2 separate regions of the Homo sapiens genome follow, and region 1 is linked to region 2. Evidence: promoter capture Hi-C in human tissues and cell types (Jung and others, 2019). All regions are on one chromosome and are shown on one strand. Each heading gives the region's core, a stretch centred on a gene start or on the middle of the fragment in contact. The rest is flanking DNA. Distances are from core to core; before and after follow the strand shown. Region 1 has its middle 9.5 kb from the start of LILRA5. Region 2 holds the start of U2AF2 (U2 small nuclear RNA auxiliary factor 2).

Region 1 (2,700 bases), core at 37-2,536, 1.3 Mb after region 2:
AGTAGTAAACTGATAGGCTTTGAACATATTCATTAGTTTTAATACACTACCTATATTATTTGATTCTATAAATATTCCACATTTTGCCATTGGGAACTTTTCATGATAGACTTTATGTTCAGGTAACATGAATCTGATGGTATGTGGTGATGTCTTTGCTTTCTTGCATGATAAGAAGTTCTGACTTCATCTCCTGTATTTTCTCTCCGAATGTGGAGTCAGCTATTTCTCTAGGATGAAATTTAGAATTTTTGACCATACATATTTTAAGAATTAAACATTTTTGAGGGTGTATTCACTTATGTTTTACTATATATAGTCAAAATTATATAATAATATTAACTATATGTCACTACATAATATATAATTTGATTTAAAAGTATACATTTATTATATAATATGATAAATAATATATGCATTATAAAATATATGGTCAAGTAATTTTGCTTACATTCTAGTACAAATAATTCTTCCTTGTTTAGTAATGCCCTAATTTGATAGGAACTCAATTCTATTTCCTTTTTTAAGGTATTATCTTTAGATTTATAAGTTATATTTAAAAATATTTTATAGTATAGACATTCAGGAATATGTTTATATATGTATATATATATATTTTTAAACGGAGTCTTGCTCGTCGCCCAGGCTAGAATGCTGTGGGTGGCAAGCCACCCAGGTGCCGAGGCAAGAGACAGAGGACACGAGCTGTTCCAGTATAATAAAATATAAAACAAGAATAGTTATACCAGATATAGATCTTAGTTATGATTATATATGAATATCATTAATCATTTGTTTGTAGCAGTTACCCTTTATCCCAATATTATAATAATCCTCCCTCTGTAATCATAACCTAGGAAAAGCCAGGCCATACAGAGATAGGAGCTGAGGGGACACAGTGAGAAGTGACCAGAAGACAAGAGTGCGAGCCCTCTGTCATGCCCGGACAGGGCCACCAGAGGGCTCCTTGGTCTAGCGGTGACGCCAGCGTCTGGGAAGACGTCCGTTGCCAAGCGGACCGTGGTCTAGCGGTAGCGTAAGTGGCAAGGAACAACACCCGCTACTTAGCAGACTGGGGAAGGGAGTCTCCCTTTCCCCGGGGGAGTTTAGAGAAGACTCTGCTCCTCCACCTCTTGTGGAGGGCCTGACATCAGTCAGGCTCGCCCGCAGTTATCCGGAGGCCTAACCGTCTCCCTGTGATGCTGTGCTTCGGTGGTCACGCTCCTAGTCCGCCTTCATGTTCCATCCTGTACACCTGGCTCTGCCTTCTAGATAGCAGTAGTAAATTAGTGAAAGTACTAATAGTCCCTGATATGCAGAAATAATGGCGTAAGCTGTCTTTCTCTCTGTCTCCTCTCCCTCTCTGCCTCGGCTGCCAGGCAGGGAAGGGCCCCCTGTCCAGTGGACACGTGACCCACGTGACCTTACCTATCATTGGAGGTGACTCACACTCTTTACCCTGCCCCTTCTGCCTTGTATCCAATAAATAACAGCGCAGCCCAACATTCGGGGCCACTACCGGTCTCCGCGCATTGGTGGTAGTGGTCCCCCGGGCGCAGCTGCCTTTTCTTTTATCTCTTTGTCTTGTGTCTTTATTTCTACACTCTATCGTCACCACACACAGGGAGAGACCCACCGACCCTGTGGGGCTGGTCCCTACAAATGCAGTGGCACAGTCTCAGCTCACTGCAATCTCCACCTCCCAGGTTCAAGCAATTCTCCTGTCAGAGCCTCCCGAGTAGCTGGGATGACAGGAGTGTGCCACCATGCCCAGCTAATCTTTTTATTTTCAGTAGAGGTGGGGTTTCACCATGTTGGCCAGGCTGGTCTTGAACTCCTGATCTTGCGATTCGCCCACCTCAGCCTCCCAAAGGTATGTTTATATTTCTATACCAAAACAAGAAACAAGACACAATGATGTCAGTCTAGCTTTATTCTGTCTCCTCTGCACTGTTTTCTCTCTCTCTCTCAACTACCCACTTTTAAAGGTATTGATTAATCTTTCATTTTAAAAAATAGATTACAAAATACACACACAATGACATAACACTATACCATTTTTCTCTGGTTCTGAGTAAAATAAAGTTAACTGTTGATAACGTCCTGAATCTTTCTTTTTCTTTTCTCCCTGCCACCCCAACTACACAACTACACGTCTTGGAAGGTCAGCCTTCAAGATAACTCATTCATCTCACCCACAGCTGCCCAGGACTCCACTGTGGGGAGGCCCAGGAATTTATTGAGTCTTTCTTTGATTGAAATTAAGTGGGTTCAAGTCATTGTAGTTTTACAAATCATAATTTTGGAATAAATAGCTTTGTAATTGTACAAGTTTGTTCTTAATGTTTGTATTCACCTGGAATAATGAGTTTCGTGAGAAAAAGGCATTTTCTGGGTGTCAGGCCTCTGAGCCCAAGCTAAGCCATCATATCCCCTGTGACCTGCACATACACATCCAGATGGCTGGTTCCTGCCTTAACTGATGACATTCCACCACAAAAGAAGTGAAAATGGCTTGTTCCTGCCTTAACTGATGACATTATCTTGTGAAATTCCTTCTCCTGGCTCATCCTGGCTCAAAAGCTCCTCTACGGAGCACCTTGTGACCCCCACACCTGCCCACCAGAGAACAACCCCTCTTTTTCCTTTACCTACCCAAATCCTATAAAATGGCCCCACCCCTATCTCCCTTCGATGACT
Region 2 (2,700 bases), core at 77-2,576:
CTTCCCCAGGACACTGTTTCCTAATACAGCCCCTACCCAACTCTAGCCCGGGTTCAAAGGAAAATTCCTCAGCCCTCATTTCGTCCTCCGAACGAGCTAGGAACATGGGCAGCTGAAGCCTGAAAAGAAACAAGTCTCCAATCTTCCCTGGTCCTGTATTTCTTCACAAACTGAAACACGGAGGATTTTTAAAGCGTCTTAACAACTCTCCCACTTCTAATATTATTGGAATCCCTAAGATCAGGGCCCCAGGCTTTTTGTTCTAACCCATCACAATTTTCGATACCCTGAAGGGAACCTGCCTCCCACCTTCCCCGTAAGTGAAGAGTTTAGCGCAGTGGGCCAGATCCCTCTTCCTCCCTCAGAACCTGTTTTCTTATCTCTATATTGAGATCTGAGACTGAGTATTATCAGGTGCCCTGAGATTGGGATTGTAAATGATTTGAGGTTTGTCTCAAACACTCCATATCGCGATTCTCGGGACCGCCAAAAGCCCCGCATATGCAGGATGTGTGCGTGCGGACACTCAAAGAATGCAGATGCTTTTAGGCAACATGTGCCAAACACGTTAATATGAGGCGCCCCACTACCAACAGACGGGGCAGAAACCACCTGGCGGGAGAGATCAGAGCAAATCAGCAAAAAGGAAAAGGGGTACGCGAGGGGCCCGTGGCCTCCAAGCATCCGCCGAAACGGCTCTGCCCTCATCCACGTGAAGGAAGGAAAGGGGCCCCCCCACCAAGTTCTCACAACCGCCATTTTGGAAACAAAGGGGGCGTGGAGACGCTGCCGTGGGCCCGACCGGAAGCGGAAGTGCCAAGGCAGCGGGAGAAAAGAGATTACGGGGACTAACATAATCTCCTTTTCAGAGAAACCAAAAAGATTTTAAAAAACAAAAGTTCACGTCGAGGCATCTGGCGCGCTCGTGCCGCGTCCCCCGCGCCACCTCCGCCAGGACCACGTGGGGCGCAGGGACAGCCGCCGTGCGCATGCGTCACGGGCCCGCGCCCCGCCGCCCCCTTCCCCTCGCCTAGCGCGCGGCGGAACGCTGGGGACGTCACGTGAACGAGGCGCGCGCCACGGAACCAGGGTTGGGGGGCGCCGCGCGGCCGTGAAGTGGGGGGAAGCGAGGGAGAAAATGGCGGGGGGGCAAAGAGCGACGCGAGGAGCCGCCCACACCTCCGCCCCGCGACCCCGGTGCCCTCACCTTGTTTATTCTCGTTGAGCTGCCGCTCGAACTCGTCGAAGTCCGACATGCTGAGGCGGCCGCGTAGGGCCCTGTGCAGCTTTCGCCTCGCCTTGCCGCCCGCTCCAGCCGCTTCGGCTACTTCCGCCGCTGGCTTCGGCTACTTCCGGCCGCCGCCGGCGCTTCGCCACCTCCTACCTAATCAAGCCTCCGGCAGCCCTCCCCGCCCCGCCCGGGCTCCGCCCCCTCACCCGCCCGCCCGCCCGCGAGCTTGCCCCTCCCCCCGAGCCTGGCTCCGAAGCGCCTCGGCTATCTCCGGATACTGGACGAAGGCGAAGCAGGCGGCCGCTTCGGCTGCTTCCGAAAACACCCGAACGTAGGGTTTCGCCGACTTCCCAGGTTTCCGTAACTTTTCCGAGATTATCTCCTCAACGTTCGGAGGTTTCCGTGTGTCCTCGTGTGCCACTGCGCCCAGTCCCCTCTGCGAGTTCGGGTTCTTCCAACAATTCAATCCGTCCCAGTCTTTGGCTTCTTCCACGGACTTGCTCCGATCTTCTCCGCCGGCCCTGTCCAAGCAATCGGCCACTTCCGACAATCCTAACCGTCCCGGCCTTCGGCTCTTTCCGGAGATTTCCGGATCTCGCCCTCGGGCCCCTCCTGGGATTAAGCTCGAGTCCGTGTTTCGGCTCTTTCCGGAGATGCCACTTGCTCACGCCTCCGATCAGAGAACTTCGGCTCCTTCCGCCACCGCTTCGTGAAGGCCTCACTCTCCGGGGACAGCTTCGACTTTTTCCGTGGGTACCTCGGCTCCTTCCGGCTTCGGGAACGGAAAAGGGAAGGAGAACAGAGACGAGATGGATCAGGGGAAGGGATAGAGAAGGGGACGAGGTCCTAGTTCTCGGCACCTGGCTCTCCGGGTGGGGAAAGTGAAAGAAAAAAAGGGCCGGCCTCGCGGAGGGCCTGAGAAGGTTGTGCCAGACAAAAGCAGCAAGAGGGATGAAGGGTGCGCGCGACCGCTGCGGAGGTTGCCAGCGCGGCTTTTTGCGCCTGCGCAGGGTGGAAGCCGCGGGTGAGGGGAAACAGGCTTCTGCGCCTGCGTAAAAGTCGTTCTGTGGCGCGCTCTCCCACTGCTCCCGTGAAGGGGGTTGCGGGGACCAGGTTTCAGTCCCCATTGCGCGTGCGCGAGATTTCCCTTACAACGGTGAAAGTGCTTAATCCCCAGCCGTTAAATCCGGCCACCCTCTTGGTTGTCTCGGCAACCACATCAACGCGCTCCGGCTCTTCCCGCCGCGCAGGCGCGGCAGACGGATCATCTGGCATTACTTCCGGGAGACAGATGATCTGGCGTTACTGCCCCCTGGCGGCCCAACGGAAGTATCCTCCAGACTTGGCCTGGCCGCTAGGTGGCCTCCCTCGCTAGAGGTCATCGACTCACGCCTCTCGCGCCGCGCTCCGGTCTGGGTAGCCCAGCGGGTAGTGTCCACGCTTCTTTTTACTTTTTTTTTTTTTTTTTT

Evidence for each region. The method cuts DNA at HindIII sites, captures the fragments that hold promoters and counts their contacts. A contact is called where the count stands out against the background at its distance.
Region 1: a contact is called between a fragment that was not itself captured here and the fragment with the promoter of U2AF2 in region 2, in 1 of the 25 tissues and cell types used here (H1 embryonic stem cells).

What each region holds. Positions count from the first base shown.
Region 1 is chr19:54,321,343-54,324,042 of GRCh38, reverse strand. No RefSeq gene overlaps it. Among named protein-coding and RNA genes, the nearest start is that of LILRA5, 9.5 kb to the right of the region's middle. The HindIII fragment of the contact is 5,873 bases long and covers 1-2,700 here.
Region 2 is chr19:55,653,661-55,656,360 of GRCh38, reverse strand. It overlaps U2AF2 (U2 small nuclear RNA auxiliary factor 2), which reads right to left and starts at 1,326. Exons shown (of 12, transcript NM_007279.3): 1 at 1,208-1,326. The coding sequence starts at 1,256. RefSeq lists enhancers at 501-580, 1,531-2,200 and silencers at 941-1,080, 1,291-1,340, 1,431-1,480. The HindIII fragment of the contact is 13,132 bases long and covers 521-2,700 here.